Regions from separate parts of the Homo sapiens genome. Here region 2 is linked to region 1. Evidence: promoter capture Hi-C in human tissues and cell types (Jung and others, 2019). All regions are on one chromosome and are shown on one strand. The core of a region is centred on a gene start or on the middle of the fragment in contact, and the rest is flanking DNA. Distances in the headings are between cores, read along the strand shown.

Region 1 (4,074 bases), core at 929-3,428:
TAAAGATTAAGAAATGGAAGTGGAAGGGAAAAGATAAGGGGAGAAACCTGAGGAAGGTAGAATCTGTAAAGCTCAGGTGCCGTCAGCTGGAGTTGAAACAGACTCCTGAGAGGCTCTTATGCCTACAGTTATTTGGGAACTAAGTCATCTTCTTCCCACTCCCATCACCAAAGGACCAGGACTGGTTGGCCAGCAACAAGGTGAACCTCCCTTCTTCGAACCTCTGCCCTCTACCTCTTAGGTATATGCTGCCCTCTGGTATTCTGCTCCTGTTTAAGGCTACTCTTGGTGCTTATTTTAACTGATTTCATCTCGATATGGAAGTTGAGTGTAGGAACAAGACTCATACCATGAGATGTTCTTGGGGGCAGTCTCAGGTCAGATAATAGAGATAATGATTAATATTTAGTGTGCACTTAATATGTGGTAGGCTCTGTGCTATGGGCCTTACATGCGTAATCTTATTAAATTCTTCCAGTGATCTACAAAGTAGGTTTGATTATTATTTCCATTTTATAGATGAGAAGACTGAGATTCAGAGAGTTAACTTGCTTAAGGTCACACAGCCAGAAAGTGGTGAATCAACAAAATTAGAACACAGGCCTGCTGAGTTCTTGCTTCCAGTCACTTCACTGCAATAGGCCCCCAGAAGCAGGGCTGGAGTTCAGAAATTCTTTCTAGTAGAGCACCTGTGTCAGGGCTCCTGACCTTCTGATCTGTCCTGAGCTTTACAGATTCTACCTTCCTCAGGTTTCTCCCCTTATCTTTTCCCTTCCACTTCCATTTCTTAATCCTTACTCCAGGCCTTCATCAATAGTCCAGGGTGACTTCTCTTCCCGAGACTTTGCTTTGAGCTCAGCACACCCTACTTGTAAACCACCAGGGCCCGCCAACATCTAGAGAACAAAATTAAAACTTTTATGGGGGTAACTGTCCCCATGATTCAATTATCTCCACCTGGTCCCTCCCATGACACGTGGGGTTTATGGGAACCACAATTCAAGATGAGGTTTGGGTGGGGACACAGCGAAGCCATATCAAATGGTGAAATACAATTCTGCATATGTAGCATCCTAAGAAGCTCTATAGCCTAGTGGCTAAGACTATAGCCTGTGGGCCTAAGCTGCCCGGGTTCAAACCCTGGCTCTGCCCCTCACTAACTGTGTGGCCTTGGATGAGTTATTGTAATCCTCAATGGTTCCGTTTCTCTAATTGTAAAATACAGAGGCTAGGTTTATTGTGAGGAATAATTGAGTTAATACATGTAAGGTACATGACACCTGGCACGGAGGAGTTTATTTTAAAAAGTCACCTATTATGAAACATCCTTCTTCCTCATTTCGAGATGTCACTTGCTATCTTGTACCTAAACTGAGCCCTTTTGGTGGAGGCAGTGAGGGTTCTTGTGTGTTCTTCGCCATCCCTGCCTGGCGTGTGCGCAGGAGCTATTTATGTTGCTGAATTCACCATCGTGGGGATCACAGGAAGAGGAAAACTTTTTCCAGTAGCTCAGGAGCTGCTTATGTCGCTGAATTCACCATGACGGGGATCATAGGAAGAGGAAAACTTTTTCCAGTAGCCTGTAGTTGCAAAAGATAATAAGCTTTCCAACCTGTGATCACCTGGAGCAAACGGAGAGGAAAGGAGATAAACGAGGAGTGTTGCGTGCGGAGTGGAGGGAGGCTCCCTTTCTCCTCCCATCACCAACTCCTCCTTCTCCTCAGGCCAGGCTTTTAATCAGGCTCCCCGCGTGCAGTCAGAGAGGGCAAAGCCAGCTCCCGTCTCAGCCTCCCGTAGGAAGATCTCCCGGCCTCACCTGAGCGCCCCGCAGCCCTGGGTACCTCTGCTCCCGCCCAGGGTCCTATGGCCCCTCCTCCCAGCACCCAACACTGGGACCCCACCTGTACCCAGGCTGGCCTCCCTCCCCCGCAGCTTCCTTTGCAGCCGCCGTCCGCGGGTCTCCAGGCGTGGCCACACCTCCCGGGGCCCCGCAAGGGTTAAGGCAGCAGAGAGGAGAGGTTTGGGCTGACGTCGCTCTGGCTGAAGGTGGTTCCCCTCAGATGAGGATGGGAGAGCCTGGCGAGCTGAAACCCGAGCTCCCGCTCAGCTGGGGCTCGGGGAGGTCCCTGTAAAACCCGCCTGCCCCCGGCCTCCCTGGGTCCCTCCTCTCCCTCCCCAGTAGACGCTCGGGCACCAGCCGCGGCAAGGATGGAGCTGGGTTGCTGGACGCAGTTGGGGCTCACTTTTCTTCAGCTCCTTCTCATCTCGTCCTTGCCAAGAGGTACTGTGAGTAGCGTCCGGGACACCCTAGGAGGACACCCTAGGAGGGAGCATTTTCCTCCTGGGGTCTGCCTGGGAGCAGGACTGGGAGTCTCAGGAGGTGGGCTGTGTGTGTTTGGGGTGAGGGGTTGAGGGGGGGTGGTGCTTTTCCAGTGATAATTTTAGGGACTTGGCTGGTGGTGCTGGAGCTCCTGTGGCCCTCCCTGAGACTGTGACGTGGTTTTGTCATCCCAAATCGTGGGGCTGTACTGTCTCAGGAAAGCGGACCAGCTCCTATTTTATTTGCTCTTTTTATCATTTTAAAAGTACCAAATTGCCTTAGGGAATCAATTCTGAGTTACCCGCTCTGACTTGCAAAAGCGAAGTTTCTCTTGGAAAGGGCTCCCTCAGAGGTGAGCAAGAAAGAAAGAAGAGAGGGAAAGAAAGAAAGGAATAAAGAGCAGGGCTTGCTTGGTGTTCTTCTGGTGAATCTTGCTTCACGAACTCCTACAGCCATACCCCTTCGGAGTAGATCCAAGCACAGGAGATTGACTCACTCAGCATATATAGACACACTTCCTTTCTGATGAGAGTGAGAAAGAAGAAAAAGCCAAGGTTAAAAGTGCAGATTGTTTCTGGGATGCATAGGGTTTGTTTTGAAAGAGCTCTGGCTTCTTTGGTTTTCATATATCATTTTCTAAGCCACAATCCCCAGGTCAAATGGGCTTCTGGGGACAAATGAGGCTGGGACATGATACGGAGATCCAGCTAAGGGCAGAAGCGAGGACATGGCAGATCCTGCTTGCTGGCAGGCGGGGAAGTGGGAACGTCATAGGAACATCTGTCCTTCTATGGCCCAGGGGGTAAAGTGAGACCTCATGAGATGAGGGCAGGCCGAGATGTACAGAAATGACCAAACGGGGCAGCTCTGAATAGGGGCAGGTTATGTACGAGCCTTCGCTGCTTCCCTTCTGTGCTGGTTACCTGTCACCTGAACTCTATCTGAGAGCTGGGTGCTCTGCCGCTGCAAGTAGCTGGCAAGTGCCTGAGAATGAAACAGGCCAGGTCGGGTGGGGAGGATACTAAATGCAATAACCTGTGTAGAAGGGAAACTTAGCCATAGGCACATCCCTTCATGATCAACGAAAAGCTGAGATACACAAACCCCCCTGCCCTTCATTTTGGTCAATACTTTCCATCTACCTAGAGCCTGCCTGCCCAGGTAGGATCTTCCTTAATGATTTACAATAAAGATGGTGAGTGTTTCATTTGAATTTTGCCTCCATGGTGTCTGGAGCAGCCCAAAGACAATAATAAAGGAAGAAGGAGCCCTTCATAAGGGCTGACAATCCATAAACCTAAACACTTGCCTAGGGGTAAGTGGGTGACTTTGCATTAAGGCACCTCCCTACTTCATCTTCGCCTTTGCATGGTGTCGGTGGACCAGCTCCAGAGGACCTGGTTCTTCTCAGAGTGCCAGGGCTCAGTGGATTTGATTCCTCAGGGTTACATCAGCGTTCCCCTGCTTCCTGTTTTATTACATGGCAGGTGAGGCGCTTCAAAGCCATAAAAGTTTAAAAGAAAATAAAAAAACCTGAGCTGGCTCTTTTTCCTAGCCCAGAATCTGAAAAATCCATTTATTTCTGACCCGAGAACCTCTTTTACCTTTGGCTGTGAAAAAGCTTCAGAGAGGATACGCAGTTTGTTGGTAGCTAAACTGCTGCCTGAACCAGAGCGCAGCTTCATGTGTTTAGCAAGGATATTTTAGTTGTTGAATGTTTTACTCACATTTCGAGGGAAGACGGAGGAATAGCG
Region 2 (4,074 bases), core at 609-3,108, 44 kb before region 1:
GAGGGACCCAGTGGGAGACAATTTAATCATGGGGGTGGGTCTTTCCCATGCTGTTCTTGTGATAGTGAATGGGACTCATGAGATCTGATGGTTTTAAAAATGGGAGTTTCTCTGCACAAATTTTCTCTTTGCCTGCTGCCATCTAGGTAAGATGTGACTTGCTCCTCCTTGCCTTCTGCCATGATTTTGAGGTCTCTCCAGCCATGTGGAACTGTAAGTCCAAGAAACCTCTTTCTTTCGTAAATTGCCCAGTCTTCGGTATGTTTTTGTCAGCAGCATGAAAGCGGACTAATACTCTCTAGTTGCATCCATGTTGCAAATGACAGGATCTCACCTTTTTTATGATGGAATAGTACTCCACTGTGTATATGCACCCATTTTCTTTATCCATTCAACTGTTGATGGACACTGAGGTTGATTCACTCAATTCCAAATCTCGGTTATTTTAAATAGTGTTGCATGAACATGGCAGTGCAAATATCTCTTTGATATGCTGATTTCCTTTCTTTGGAGTATATATCCAGCAGTGGAATTGTTAGTGCATATGGTAGTTCTATTTTAGTTTTTTGAGGAACCTCCATATCGTTCTCCATGGAGGCTGTTCTAATTTATACTCCCACTCACAGTATACAGAGGTTACCCTTTCTCCACAACCTCACCAGCATTTGTTATTGCCTGTCTTTTGGATAAAGGTCATTTTAACTGGGGTGAGAGGAAATCTCACAGTAGTTTTGATTTGCAGTTCTCTGATGATCAAAATGTTGAGCATATTTTTATATACCTATTTACCATTTGTAGGTCTTCTTTTGAGAAATGTCTATTCAGATCTTTTGCCTATCTAAAAATGTGATTATTAGATTTTTTTCCTATTGATTTATTTAAGTGCCCTATATATTCTGGTTATTAACCCCTTGACTGATGGATAGTTTGCAAATATTTTCTCCCATTCTGTGGGTTGTCTTTTCACTTTGTTGATTGCTTCTTTTGCTAGGCAGACTGAAGAACTGCTTTTAGCATTTCTTATAGGATAGGTCTGGTGTTGATAAAAATCTTTTAGGTTTTGTTTGTCTGGGGAAGTCTTTACTTCATGTTTGAAGGGTATTTTTGTTGAATATTATATTCCAGGATAAAAGTTCTTTCCTTCAGTATTTTAAATATATCATGTCACTGTCTCTTGGCTTGTAAAGTTTCCACTGAGAAATCTGCTGCCAGACATATTGAAGCTCCTTTCTATATTATTTCTCACGAGATCTGATGGTTTTAAAAATGGGAGTTTCTCTGCACAAATTTTCTCTTTGCCTGCTGCCATCTATGTAAGATGTGACTTGCTCCTCCTTGCCTTCTGCCATGATTTTGAGGCCTCCCCAGCCATGTGGAACTGTAAGTCCAAGAAACCTCTTTCTTTTGTAAATTGCCTAATCTTGGGTATGTTTTTATCAGCAGCATGAAAACGGACTAATACTCTCTAGTTGCATCCATGCTGTTGCAAATGACAGGATCTTATCTTTTTTATGTTGGAATAGTACTCCACTGTGTTTATGCACCCATTTTCTTTATCCATTCATCTGTTGATGGACACCAAGGTTGATTCACTTGATTCCAAATCTTGGTTATTTTAAATAGTGTTGCATGAACACAGTGCAAATATCTTTTGATATGCTGATTTCCTTTCTTTGGAGTATACATCAAGCAGTGGAATTGTTAGTTATTTCTTTTCTCTTGCTGCTTTTAGGATCCTTTCTTTATCCTTGACCTTTGGGAATTTGATTACTAATGCCTTGAGGTACTCTTACTTAGATTATATCTGCTTGGTGTTCTATAACTTCCTTGTATTTGAATATGGACATCTTTCTTTAGGTTTGAGATGTTCTCTATTACTATATTTTTGAATGAACTTTCTACTTCAGTCTCTATCTCTGTCTGCCTCCTCTTTAAGGCAAGTAACTATTAGATTTGTCCCTTTGAGGTTATTTTCTAGATCCTGTAAGCATGCTTTATTCTTTTTTCTTTTGAATCCTCTATGTATTTTCAAATAGCCTGTCTTCAAGCTTACTAATCCTTTCTTCTGCTTGATCAATTCTGCTACTGAGAGATTCTGATGCATTTTTCGGTTTGCCAGTTGAATTTTTCAGATCCAGAATTTCTGCTCAATTCTTTCTAATTATTTCAATCTCTCTGTTAAAGTTGTCTGATAGGATTCTGAATTCTTTATCTGTGTTATCTTGGATTTCATTGAGTTTTCTCAAAAAACAGCTATTTTGAACTCTCTGTCTGAAAGATCACATATTTCTGTCACTCTGGGATTGATCACTGGTGCCTTATTTAGTTATGGTGAGGTTATGTTTTCCTGAATGATCTTGATGGCTGTGGATGTTAATCAATCCATAATCCACAATCTTCAATGTCTGGGCATCGAAGAGTCAGATATTTATTGTAGTCTTCACAGTCTGGGCTTGTTTGTACTCATCCTTCTTGGGGGGCTTTCCAAGTATTCAAAGAGAACTGAGTGTTGTGAACTAAGTCTTTGGTCACTGTAGCTTTATCTGTATTAGGAGGCACCCCAAGCCCAGTAATGCTGTGACTGTTGCAGACTTGTAGAGGTACCACCTTGGTGGTCTTGGGGAAGATCCGGGAGAATTCCTTGGATTAACAGGCAAGACTCCTGGTTTCTTCCCTTACTTTCCCCCAAACTCTCTCTCTCTCTATGCTGAGCTGCCTGGAGTTAGGGGAGGGGTGATGCAAGCACTCTCATGGCTACCACTGCTGGGACTGTGCTGGGTCACACCTGAAGCCAGCACAGTACTGGGTCTTGCTCAAGTCCTGTGGCAACAATTTCCTGACTTCTGCTGATGTTTATGCAAGGCCCAAGGGCTCTTTATTCACTAGGTAATAAATCCTGCCAGGACTGAGCAGTGCAGCAGATTCCCTTCTGGCTCAGGGTGGGTCTAGAAATTCCCTCCAGGAGGGAATGCCTGGAATCAGGGACCTTAGGGGTCTGCTTGTTGCTTTATTTTACTGTGGCTGAGCTGGTACCCAAGTTGCAAGACAAAGTCCTTTTTACTCTTCCCTCTCCTTTTCTCAGGCAGAAGGAATCTTTCCCCATGGCCACAACAGCTGGGAATGTGCTGTGTCACACCTGAAGCCAGCATCATGCTAGATCTTGTCCAAGACCTGTGGTGACTGCTTCCTGGCTCCAGCTGATGTTTATTCAAGGCCCAAGGGCTTTTCAGTCAGCAGGTGCTAAATTCTGCCACGACTGGAATCTTTCCTTCAGGACAATGGGTTCTCCTCTGGCCCAGAGTGGGTCTAGAAATGTCATCTGGGAACTAGGGCCTGGAATGGGGGCCTTAGGATTCTGCTTGGTGCTTTATTTACTGTAGCTGAGCTGGTATTCTAGTTGCAAGACCAAGTCCCCTTTACTCTTGCCTTTCTTCCCAGAGCTGGGAGCTGCACTGCCTGGAGTGGTGTCTCACGGGGTCAAATGCAGCCCAAATCCACGGTCCCAGCACAACACAGCACCAGGACTTTCCAAGGAACTGCAGTCCTTATGGCCTACACTGCCTTTCAAGTTTATTTAGGGCACCAGAGTACTTTAGCCCGTGCTGGTGGGGATAGCTAGAACTCAGTTTCCAGCTCCTGGGATGGATGATGTAAAAACCAAGTACTGTGATTGCTCACCTGATTTTTTATTCTAATGAAGGTGCTTTCTTGTGTGGATAGTTTTTCGATTTAGTATTCCTGTGGAGGGACAGGAGGGATGATTGCTGGAGGGTTCTATTTGGCCATCTTGTTCCACCTCCTATTGTCAGTTTAATTCACAGACTCCTAAGTACTGAACCTAAGAGGGCGGAGGAAAGGCTTTTCCTCCCCAGGATCCTCCTCACAGGAAGACTTTTAAGCACTCAGATTCCTGTGCCCCACTCCAACCCCTAAGAGGACCTCTGGAAAGCTGGATTAGGCATTTGAATGTTTAAGGAGCTCCCCAGGTGAGTCTGAAGTTCATTCAAGTTTGGGAACTCTTGATCTAGACCAAGTAACAAATATAATTCTTGACCACACTGACTGGGAAGGACT

What was found. The method cuts DNA at HindIII sites, captures the fragments that hold promoters and counts their contacts. A contact is called where the count stands out against the background at its distance.
Region 2: a contact is called between a fragment that was not itself captured here and the fragment with the promoter of PAMR1 in region 1, in 1 of the 25 tissues and cell types used here (IMR-90 fibroblasts).

What each region holds. Positions count from the first base shown.
Region 1 is chr11:35,523,720-35,527,793 of GRCh38, reverse strand. PAMR1 (peptidase domain containing associated with muscle regeneration 1) reads left to right here and starts at 2,178. Exons shown (of 11, transcript NM_001001991.3): 1 at 2,178-2,281. The coding sequence starts at 2,209. The HindIII fragment of the contact is 6,683 bases long and covers 1-2,772 here.
Region 2 is chr11:35,567,023-35,571,096 of GRCh38, reverse strand. No RefSeq gene overlaps it. Among named protein-coding and RNA genes, the nearest start is that of PAMR1, 43 kb to the right of the region's middle. The HindIII fragment of the contact is 8,001 bases long and covers 1-4,074 here.